4 separate regions of the Homo sapiens genome follow, and regions 2, 3 and 4 are each linked to region 1. The links are contacts of gene promoters, found by promoter capture Hi-C in blood cells and fetal thymus (Javierre and others, 2016). All regions are on one chromosome and are shown on one strand. Each heading gives the region's core, a stretch centred on a gene start or on the middle of the fragment in contact. The rest is flanking DNA. Distances are from core to core; before and after follow the strand shown.

Region 1 (2,854 bases), core at 324-2,823:
AACAGGAACACCCCACAAAATCCAACAACACCACTTACTAAAGGAGTCTCTGAGATTAGAACATACCTCAATCCACAGAAGAATGAGAAAATAATATTAAAGCTCTGCTTTTGTCACTCAAATGACAACCACTGGAAGTAATGCCTTACCAAATCCTACAAATTCTGAAATACTATGAAATAATTCACACAGTTGCTTGTATCAATACTTCCACAAGTTATTTTAGAATTCTGGTAAATATCCAGTGAACCAAGGCATAAGTGTCTTGCTGTCTTACACCAGTGTGCTTAAACTTTGCCAAGGCGTGTAGATTGATCACAACACACACTTGCAGAGCACTCTTTTTACTACTTGCCACACTTAATCATTTTCCTGAAGCCCCAAAATAAGTAAATTGTGTATTCACTTAATTAAACACACATTTACCTGCAAGGAAGACACAGGATCTTTGGAATCAACATACACATCTTTTAGAAACGACAGCAGCTTTTCATCTTTACGAGCAATCTCTCCTTTAACTTCTGGATAGACTAAGGAAAGGAAAAAAGTCACAATATTAAAATCAAGGAAAATTTCCTGTAATATCCTAAACGCTTAACACAAACGCTTTCTTTTATTTTCTTTTTTGAGTCGGAGTCTCGCTCTGTTGCCCAGACTGGAGTGCAGTCGCGCGATCTCGGCTCCCTGCAACCTCCGCCTCCCGGGTTCGAGAGATTCTCCCACCTCAGCCTCCCGACAAGCTGAGGCTACAGGCGCGCCACCACGCCCGGCTAATTTTTGCATTGTTTGTAGAGACGGGGTTTAGCCATGTTGGCCAGGCTGGTCTCGAACTCCTGACCTCAGGTGATCTGCCCGCCTCGGCCTCCCAAAGTGCTGAGATTACAGGCTTGAGCTACCGCGCCCGGCCTAACCACTTTAATTTTTTTAAAAAATAAACATAATCATTTGGACTGTTAGGAAAATACTTTAGATGGAAATCAAAATTCCAGGTCAGGCTCTGCGTCCATCGTCCAGTGAAGACCCCTAGAGAAAGCTCTGTGACCCTCTCGGATTTTGATTCCCTGTATCAAGTCCGTGACAGCAGCCGGCGAGGGCCTGGTTAGCGGGAGCACTGGCTGCTGCCTCTGGGTCTCGGAAGTAGGCGGGGCCGCCGACCTCACCGCGGGCGCGGAGGACAGTCTCAATGTCACCGGCCTGGCGGCTCCCCCTTCCAACGCTCCGCCAACCCGAGCGGCTGCGGCCGAGCAGGCTGACGCCGATCCCTCGGCCTCCGGACCCACGCTAGGGACAGCCGGGCAGCACAGGGACTCCGCGCCCCCGGGCCCCGAAACGCCCTCGCACCACTCACGACTAATCTGCTCTCGCAGGAGGCTGTTGGTAGAGGGGTGTCTGGGAGCGACAGAGGGCTTCATCTTGCTGATTTCCCGTTCCGCTCGGTTCTCTAGGTTGAAATTCCTGATACCGCGAATCACTAGTGCTCCCATCTCCTCATAACATTATGCGCTCAGGTTCAGGCCGCACGTGGGAACACCGGCGCAGGACAACTCCGGGACACCCGGAGCATGCGCACAAGTGAGGGGAAGCCCCGCCGCGGGCGCTTAAATGCGTGCCCGTCGCCCCCTAGCGCTCGGGAGGCCACACACCGCTTCTCTGCCCAGGGCATTTAAAAGGGAGCCCCTCCCTTCGGGGCGAGTGACGGCTCCCACGAGGGCCGCTTCCGGCGGGAGGTGGCGGGGCTTAAGTCCCCAGACCCACGGTTGCTTTTAACGCTGGAACTCCGAGGGAGTCACCCGGGAAGCTCTGTAAAGTTCTGTGCCGGGCCCTACCCCAGACTTTCTGATTTAATTCTTGTGGAGTGAGGCCCAGCATTGGATAAGACTCCACGTGATTCCAAAGTTTCAGTGAAGAGCTGAAAATCAAAGTCGTAAGGAAGTTGACCTTGAAGTTGTTTCACAGGGCAATGCCACCAAAGAGTTAGCCGATAAAAATGGAACTTACTGAACCAGGGTCAAACTGGGCTCTCAAGTTGCCCTTTCCTGCTTTTGTGAAAGGAAAATAATGAAAGGATGTTCCCTTTCGATGAGTATTTGTTCTCAGCCGCTCTCATTTAAATGCCTCTTATTTTCCTGTCCCCCCGCCTGATGCATTTTCAAGCCACTGTATTCTTTTTCCATTATTTTTTACATCCCGTTCTCATTTGACCTAATGGTATCGATTTTAGTTATACTTTCCCTTATCTTATTTTTGCTACTAATTTACTTCTCCATGCTACTAAATGCTGAGTCATTCCCTCTCCTATTTCTCTTCTCTCTTGCCTTCTTCATTCTTTTTAAGCCTCTGTGTAATTTAATGAAAGGAACAGACAATAAGACGTCAGAAAAAAAAAACAAACAAACAAAAAAACGAGTGTTACATTCACCTTCTCCGTCTCTCTCCATTTCCTGAATGGGTTACTGTAGTGCTGCTTTTATTTAAGACCCTTTAGAAATATTGTTATTAATCTAAAATAAAACCCACCAGGAAGGAAGCAGTAGGAAGGAAGTTACAGTATTTCTCTTACTGTGGCTGCAAAATCTATTTTTAGTGTTCTGATCTCTGCTTAGCAAAATGAAGTAGAGTGGATGTTTTTAACCAGCTTAAAGTAAGAAAATATTGATGTAAAGATAATCGAATAGAATAATAATAATAAAACAAGAATCAAAGAACCAAAATGAAGAAAGGGAAAGTTTTTTAAAAAGAAAACTAATGTAATCATTAAGTATAATGCTTAATCAGAGCAAAAGCACTGCAAGGAAGACGGCTTCAGCCACTCTAATTTAAATGCCCTTTATTTAATTATACTGAACATTTTTAC
Region 2 (2,700 bases), core at 140-2,639, 1.3 Mb before region 1:
AGAACTGCTACATTTAGCAAAACATAATGTACTCTATGACTTTAAAATTATCTTCCCATTGTTTCAGTTTAGCACTAAATATTTATTGATTTTCCATGACGTTCCAAGCTTGTGCTAGATTCTAGGGACATAAAAATGAGCAAGTCACATTTCCCAGTTCCTTTGTTTTCATCATTGTTGCTTTAAAAACACTGGATGGATTTCAACATTAGAATATTTCCTGAAAGTATGACATATTTGTTTTAGTAAGGTTACAATTCTTACTTCTGCATCTCCTGCCTTTAAAAATTTATACATAAAAGTAGAAGTCACAATGAGATGAATTAGACACATAAAGTTTAAATGTACCTAATAACATCTAATATGATGTCATAAAATTTCCTTTTATAATAACTATTTGCATTAAGTTTAAAGGTTATATTTATAACTGTAGAGTGGTGATATTCCATAAAGCTTTCATATTGCTATAGATGCCCAACCTTTGGCTACAAAAAAAATTTGAAAGTATTCATTGCAAGGAGACAGTCTACTTGCAAATAATATATACTTAATGTGTAATGTAAGGTCTTCACCACTGATATTCCCTATGTTTCCCTCCCATAGTTTGCTATTGTCGTAATTCTGTCACATAAGAAATGGTATTTTACTATCATTGCTGTAGGCCAGAGGTTGGCAAGCATTTTCTGTAAAGGACTGCCTAATATATATTTTTGATTTTGTGAGTCCCTCACTCTCTCTCTTTGCAACCACTCAGCTCTATCCTTATAGTGTGAAAATGGTTATAAGCAATAGATAGACAAATATATAGATGAATTGGCCTGTAAAAGGCAAGATTTGGCCGATGGGTCATAGTTTGCTGATCACTCTTTTCAATAATCAGTTGTTTTTCACAGTGATTAAAAGTAAGAATGTTTTTTACATTTATTCCATTTCTACTGTTCCCCATCCATATTTTAATGTAGATCCAAGTGTATGTCTAATATCATATTCTTTCTCTCTTAAAAATTTCTTTTATCTTGTTTTACTGGTCTCCTTGCAATGAATATTTTCAAATTTTGTTTGTAGCCTTTATTTTGAAAGATGTTTCATCACCTATGGAATTCTCAATGGGCAGGTTTTAGGGGATTGTTTTCTTTTGGAATTTTGAAAATGTATTCCATTTCTTTTTTTCTTCTTTTTCTTCAGTCTTTCATGGTTTCTGATGAGTAGTCTGCCGTAATTTAAAAAAATCTTTTTATATCCTCATTTTCTTGGATGGATATGTTTTGTTGTTGCTGTTGTTGTTTTCTGGCTGCATTTAATTTTTTTCTTTTTTTCTTTTTTCTATTTTGTTTTTTAGCAGTCTAAACATGGTATGGTTACTTGTTACTCCTGTTATTTTTTGTTATTTATCCTTCTTGGTGTTCTCTGAATTTTTAATCTGTTGCTTTGTGTCTTTTATTAATTTTGCTAAATTCTTAGTGATTATTGTTATTGTTTTATGAGATGGAGTCCCACCCTGTCGCCCAGGCTGGAGTGCAGTGGCCTGATCTCAGCTCACTGTCACTGCAACCTCTGCCTCCTGGGTTCAAGCAATTCTCCTGCCTCACCCTCCCAAGTAGCTGGGACTACAGATGTGCTCCACCACGCGTAGCTAATTTTTGTACTTTTAGTAGAGACAAGGTTTCACCATGTTGTCCAGTATGGTCTCGATCTCCTGAGCTCGTTATCCACCTGCCTGGGCCTCCCAAAGTGCTAGGATTACAGGCGTCAGCCACCGTGTCCAGCCTGATTATTTTTTCAAATAAACCTCCTACTTCTGGGTTTCCAATTACATGTGTACTAGAACTTTGATATTTATCTCGCAACTGTTAAATGCATTGTTCTATTGTTTTCCCCAGTCTTTTTTCTCATTATGGTAATTTGGATAAGGTAATTTCTTTTGACTTGCCTTGAAGTTTCCTGATTATCTCCTCAGCTCTGTTAATGAGCCTATTAAAGGCATTAATTCATCTTTTTAAGTAGTCTTTCATTCCTGGCATTTCTGTTTTATTTGTTCTTATAGTTCCCATATCTCTGCTGAAATTTGCCAGATCTTGTGTGTTAGCTACTTTGTCCATTAGATCCTTTAAGATATTCATTACAGTAATTTTATATTCTCTCTCTGATGATTCCAACGTATCTCATTTGTGAGTCTGTTTCTATTGATTGCTTTGTTTCTTGTCAGTGAATTGTTTTTCTTGCTTTTTTTTCTGTACCTTGTAAAATTTTGTTAAAAGTATGTCACCCTGGGTAAGATAGTGAAAATTGTGTTACGTCTAGAAATGAGCTTGCCTTTTTTTCTCTTAAAGCTTTAGTTTGAAAGAATGTTTGAGATGTTCAAAAGAAGCTCTAAATTTCCTATGAACACATAACAAGTTTTCTGGGGCTCAAGGTATCCAAATTTATCCATCATTATACTGTCTTCTTGTTATTAAGTGTTATTTATAATCACTTTTTAGGTGTTTTACTCTGCATGATGCATTCTCTCATTTGTGCTTTTTAAAACAGGCCTTATCCTACATTTTACAGATGTGGAAACTTAAGTAAAATAACTTACCTAAAGATACTCATCTATCAAATAACAGAATAAGAACTCGATTCTCTAGGCCTATCTGATTTTTATACCCTATATTCTTAACTGTTATCCTATTTGAATGCATCACTTTACTAACAACAAAA
Region 3 (2,894 bases), core at 358-2,857, 1.3 Mb before region 1:
ACAGTGAGTATGTGTCATATGAGAGAGCGCCTAGACAGAAGAGAGTCTATTTAAGATCTAGACCAAGAAAGAGAAGTCTACAGGGGAATTGTGGAGTTTAAGAAAAGTAAGAGAAATAATATTAGGACCCAATATAATATGTTTAGAACATGTGGGTGTGCACAGAGGATTGAGTGCAGTAAGCGCTTTACATGGATGCCTAATGTCAAATTGGAGAATGTGAGGTCAAGGAAACTAGAGGGAGAAAATGTTCAAGATGGATGGAGCTGAGTATAGAGCTGAATATAGCCAAGATATCAAGTATGGTATAGACTGAAAATATATTTAGTGCAAGGAAATCACTGGAGACTTTGTGAAAAGCAATTCCTGAGGAGTGCTGGGGGCAGTAACAATTGTACAGTAGGTTTGAGAAGTCAGAGAAGGTGAGAAAATGTTTCCCATGCCTTGCCAGCAACTCCATTAGCCTATATATCTAGAATGAACAATATAGAGTCACCTTTGATTCTTTTCTCTCATTTGTCTTCTGCTGCTCATTCTAATTGCACAATAACTCTTGGTTCTCTCTGGCTTCTCCTTGCCATTACCTCCAAAAGAGCCACTCTTGTTCAATCCTGCTTTGATACTTTCACACTACTACTCCATTCTTGTTTATAGAAAATATTCCATAATTAGTTATTATTTAATACCCAGTATAAATAGTACTTGTGTGAGTAACCGCCCCCTCCAAATAACTTTTCTCTGAACTCTTACAACACTTCATTGGAACCCTTTTAAATAACACTCATGACTTTTTGCTTTGAGTGAAGCCATCTACATGCATGTCTTATCCCCCTTCATAGACTGTTAACTTCATGAGGGAAGAAGTCTTATATTTTTATATTGTACATATATCCTAAAACAGATAATCTAAGTACATATTTTGGTTCTGCACAATTTTGGCCTATTGGACCTTGAGCAAGTCTTATCTAGGTCCTCTGAATATTTTTCCTTCCAAAATGTGATAATTTTCTATGCTGCCTACTTAATATTAAAGATTGTTTTCAGAATTTATAAGAGTAATGTAATTGAAAATGTTTTGAGAGTGATAAAATATAAAAGAAACTATTTTTATATTTTTACTATGATTGCAGGAGTTAGTAGTAGTACTGTTATGATTATTATGTACTGAGAATTGCCACTCTATTTAGACATGCAGCAATTCAGCCAATCAATACTTTAAAGGTTAATTTCTTCAATTTAGAGCATAACACCTACAGTGAAGTCTGCCATTTATTTTGATGAATAATTCATGGAACACATATTTTACTTAGAGATTGTTTCTTTCCCTAGGTGTTTATACTAGGAAATATAGCAACTGAATTTGATCAAGTGCTTGAGCCTAATTGATCAATTAATTTTTTTTTTACCTTTTAAAGTGCAATATTAATGTGTGCTTGTCGTACAAATACAAACCATTCTTAAAAGTATATATAAAAACTGAAACCCACTTTCTATGAAAAACACTGTTAAAGTGTTTGGTATGTTTATTTCTAAAAATTTAGACACATATACATTTGTTTTTTGTTGTTGATGTTCTCTCTCTCTCTCTCCTCATTCCTGTATGTATACATATTTGTATATGCCTATATATTTACATAATATAATTTATATTAAACGTACTTACAGATACTGGGGTAGGTGGAATAATGGGCCCCCAAATATGTACACATCCTATTGCCCAAAACCTGTGACTATGTTACTTTACATGACAAGGGAGCTTTGCACATGTGGTTGAGGTTAAAGATTTTGAGATGGGTTGGTTATCCTGGATTATTCAGTTGGACACAATATAATCTGATATCCTTAAATGTGAAAGAGGAAAGCAGATGAGTGGGTCGGATAAATGTGATATGAGAAGAATTGGATCTGACATTGCTGGCTTTGACAATGGAGGCATAGAGCCATGAGCCAGATAACATGGAGGCCCCTAGGAACTGGAAACTGCCTTCAATATATAGCCAGCAAGAAAACATATACCTCAGTTATACAACTGAAATCTGCCAAAAAAAATAATTGAACAAGCAAGGAAACAATCTCCCCAAGAACCTCCAGTAAGCAAGGCAACCCTGATGACACCTTGATTTTAGCATAGAGAGACCCATGTCTGACTTCTGACCTACAGAACTGTGAGATAATAAATTTGCATTGCTTAAGCCACTTAACTTGTGGTAATTTATTATGCCAACCATATAAAATTGATACAGATATATCTTTACATAGCTATCTACATAATTTTGCAAATTCATTCTTCTTAAAAACTATATATGGACATCTTTTCATGTCATTTACAAAGAGAGATCACTGTGTGCAGTTTTTTCTCATTATGGGTATAATTTTGTAGGAAAAATAGCTAAATATAGAATAGCTCACTCAAAGAGTAGTGCAGCCAAATTTCCCTTCAAGAAGGTTCTACCAATTAGTATTCCCACCAATAAAATGTGAGAGTATACATATTCCACATCCTGGCTACAACTGGATATTATCAGTCATCTTAATGCCATGGCCTTTGTCCTTTCAGGACTCAAAACTACTTTTATAGATATTGAGTACCTTTATTTCTTCTTTTTATGACTCTCCCATGTATTCTAATGAGACATTAGAGATCTACACAGGATTTTATAAGACTGTCCTCTTGCCCTAGTAGATTTTCTTACTAAGATGAATTGGCAATATAAAAGTTACTAATTCAGAAAATATTTAAGGACAATTTTTAATAAAAAGGTCCATACTCCTAGGTCTCAAAGATTTGTGCTTAAACTCAACTGACTAGGCAGCTAACTCTACACGTTCAAATGGACACTTCCTGCACCACGGTAGATAAAGTTACCTACACTTACCTCAAGTTCAAATTCACT
Region 4 (2,785 bases), core at 35-2,534, 1.5 Mb before region 1:
AATACAAACAAATGATGAAAATGTTATTCAAAAAACATTGGCAAGTGGAGTTTAGCAATATATTAAATACACTGAAGAAAAGTAGCATTTTTATCTAGAAATGCAAAACGGTTTAATATTTAGAAATCTATTAACATAATAAAATATGTTAAAATTCTATAGTAAATTAAAGGCAACAAATTGCATCAGCTCAAACATCAAATACATTTCCATTTTAGTCAAGAACAAGACAGCCAAAGCTTTTGCATCATTTAGCGGTGTTTTTTATGTGCTAGTCAAGAAAAGACTTGGAACAAAACATCATTAATATTAACAGATGATTTGACATTTCCTAACAAACCCAGAAGAATCAACCAATAAACTATTAAAAATTTAATAAGCATTTTTCCAGTATTTCAAAATAAATTAGATAAAATTTAAAATTAGACACTTTAATGATAGCAACAAATATGTCAACTTTTGATGAATTAACCTAACATGAAACTTTGACATTAAAAAGCACTGATAAATGAAAATTATCATGTCAACAAGTGAAATAAAAATACATGATACATTTATGCAGTAGACATGCCAATTAACATCACCATTAAAATTTTTGAAAACTATTTCTAAATATTTTATTAAACCATAAATTGATGAGAAAGCATAGTACATATTAAAATAAAAATAATAATGAGGATCTTGTGTTACAAACATGCTAAAATTTATCATAGAGAAGCTATAATATAACTAATGTTATTCTGGTACTAAAATATACAAATAGATAATGAAACATCTATGAAAGCCTCAAACTGAGATAATTATATAGAGGTGTTTTACAGCATTTTAAAATTCATTTGTATAAAAATAATATACAAGACTAATGTGATCAAATAGTACTTTTAAGGATGCTCGTTACAGCACTGTTTATCACGAGAAATATTAGAAAGCCTAAAGGTTCAACATAATATCAAGTATATTTTATTATCCATACATAAAATACTAAGTAATCATTGAATGAAATGGAAAGTATTACAATATATAATTAAGAAAATATAAATGTATAAAATATTTAGTATTCACCCAATTTTATTTTCTGCCTATTAATATTTTATTGTATATTTTATCAACACTTAGATTACAAAGTATATATGATCAAACTTTTAGGGAACATTTTTACAATGTCTTAATTTTTTCTTTGCATTGTCACTTGCAGATGTCTTCATAACAATCCATTGTTTAATATGCTATAATGTACCTTTAAAAAATGGTTTAAGTTGTTTTTCCTTTTCCCTTTTGTTGTTTTATCAGGTTCTGGAGATGGATGACTTTAACTTACACACTTATTGTTTGTGTATTCTTGACTAACTCACCTAAGATCTAAGCCTAAATAGTCTTCCCTGTTAATGGAAATTAAAAAGAAAGGGGCAATGAGGTTTTTACAAGGTTGAAATGAGGTGATGTACATAAAAGTTTTAGCATAATACTTGGCACATAGTAAGCACTGAGTGAACGGTAGCCAATTTTATTCAAACTATTACCATAAACATAGTTGTAGATAATTTTTGTGCAAATTTATGAGGTTTTTGCTCAGAAGAAATCTTAAAGGTAAAATAGCTGAGTCAAAGGTATAGTCATAAAATTTTTGATAGCTATTACTAAGCTGTCAATAGGGAATATTAGCAATGCAGTAAAGATCCTTTTGCCTAAGGCAAATGAAATGGCTTTCACTCCCTTTCTTTACCAGCTTTGGATATGTTAGAGATGTATTTTTATTTTTTAAATTTGTATTTACTACGTATACATAATAGTTGTAAATATTTATGGGGTACACCTGATATTTTGACACAGCAAAAAATGTGTAATGATCAAATCAGGGTAACTGGGATATTCATCACTTCAACACAATGTTCCTTTGTGTCAGGAACATTCCAGTGCCATCCTTTTAGTTATTTTTAAGTGTCCGATAAATTATTGTTATCTGTTGTTGTTCTATTGTACTACAGAACACTCAATCTTATTTCTTCTTTCCAACTGTATGTATGTACGCATTAATCATCCCCTCTTTGTCCTTCCCCCAAGCTACCCTTCCTAGCCTCTGGCATTTTACATCATTCTATTCTTTATCTCCAGGAGTTCAATATATTTTTTTTTAGCTCCCACATATTAGTGAGAATGTCTTTCAGTGCCTGGCTTATTTCACTTAACATAATATCCTCCAATTCATCAACGTTGTTGGAAATAACAGGATTTTATTAAAATGAAACAATACCAACTTTCTGGAAATGTGTACATTAAATATTGACAAGACATCTCTACATATTTTTCTGTGTTTTTTCATTTTTTTGCAGTAAGCTTATATTACTTACATAATCAAAAAATATTATTTATAAACATTAAATACTGAAACAAGTTTTTTTGCAGATGTTATTACTGTATTGTGTATCTAGAAAAGAGAGTTAACAGAAATACTATTATAACTAAGAAGATAATTAAGTGACCACATACAAGATGAACATATAGAAATCAACAGTTCTGTATACCATTAATCCGTGATTAAAAACTTTTAAAGAAGTTTATATTCAGGCGAAAATAATCATTTTAATGAAATATATATTTTCTAGATTCTTAATCTAGAGCCATTACATCATTCCTTCAAAGGCTATGTTTTAGTAATATATTTGTTATTATTACTTTTCATTGTAATTATATGTTTAATGTATTAAAATATTATTCTGAGATGGAATTTATAGGATTTACCTATGCAAAGATATTAGATAATGGTACAAAGAAAAGGTTTAAAAAT

What was found. The method cuts DNA at HindIII sites, captures the fragments that hold promoters and counts their contacts. A CHiCAGO score of 5 or more calls a contact.
Region 2: a fragment that was not itself captured here is called in contact with the fragment with the promoter of NDUFAF4 in region 1 in 9 of 17 cell types (naive CD8 T cells, fetal thymus, non-activated CD4 T cells and 6 more); the score reaches 16.2 in naive CD8 T cells.
Region 3: a contact is called between a fragment that was not itself captured here and the fragment with the promoter of NDUFAF4 in region 1, in 5 of 17 cell types (total CD8 T cells, naive CD4 T cells, naive CD8 T cells and 2 more). The highest score is 7.1, in total CD8 T cells.
Region 4: a contact is called between a fragment that was not itself captured here and the fragment with the promoter of NDUFAF4 in region 1, in 1 of 17 cell types (M2 macrophages). The highest score is 5.5, in M2 macrophages.

What each region holds. Positions count from the first base shown.
Region 1 is chr6:96,896,318-96,899,171 of GRCh38, forward strand. NDUFAF4 (NADH:ubiquinone oxidoreductase complex assembly factor 4) reads right to left here and starts at 1,574. Exons shown (of 3, transcript NM_014165.4): 1 at 1,349-1,574; 2 at 427-530. The coding sequence starts at 1,484. It also overlaps a transcript of KLHL32 not described here. RefSeq lists an enhancer at 1,397-1,496. The HindIII fragment of the contact is 8,617 bases long and covers 1-2,854 here.
Region 2 is chr6:95,590,234-95,592,933 of GRCh38, forward strand. The region is part of intron 2 of MANEA (mannosidase endo-alpha); the gene reads left to right. Among named protein-coding and RNA genes, the nearest start is that of MANEA, 14 kb to the left of the region's middle. The HindIII fragment of the contact is 1,877 bases long and covers 452-2,328 here.
Region 3 is chr6:95,564,352-95,567,245 of GRCh38, forward strand. It overlaps MANEA-DT (MANEA divergent transcript), which reads right to left. Exons shown (of 3, transcript NR_104136.1): 2 at 2,877-2,894. Among named protein-coding and RNA genes, the nearest start is that of MANEA-DT, 12 kb to the right of the region's middle. The HindIII fragment of the contact is 4,478 bases long and covers 1-2,894 here.
Region 4 is chr6:95,434,988-95,437,772 of GRCh38, forward strand. No RefSeq gene overlaps it. Among named protein-coding and RNA genes, the nearest start is that of MANEA-DT, 140 kb to the right of the region's middle. The HindIII fragment of the contact is 2,095 bases long and covers 238-2,332 here.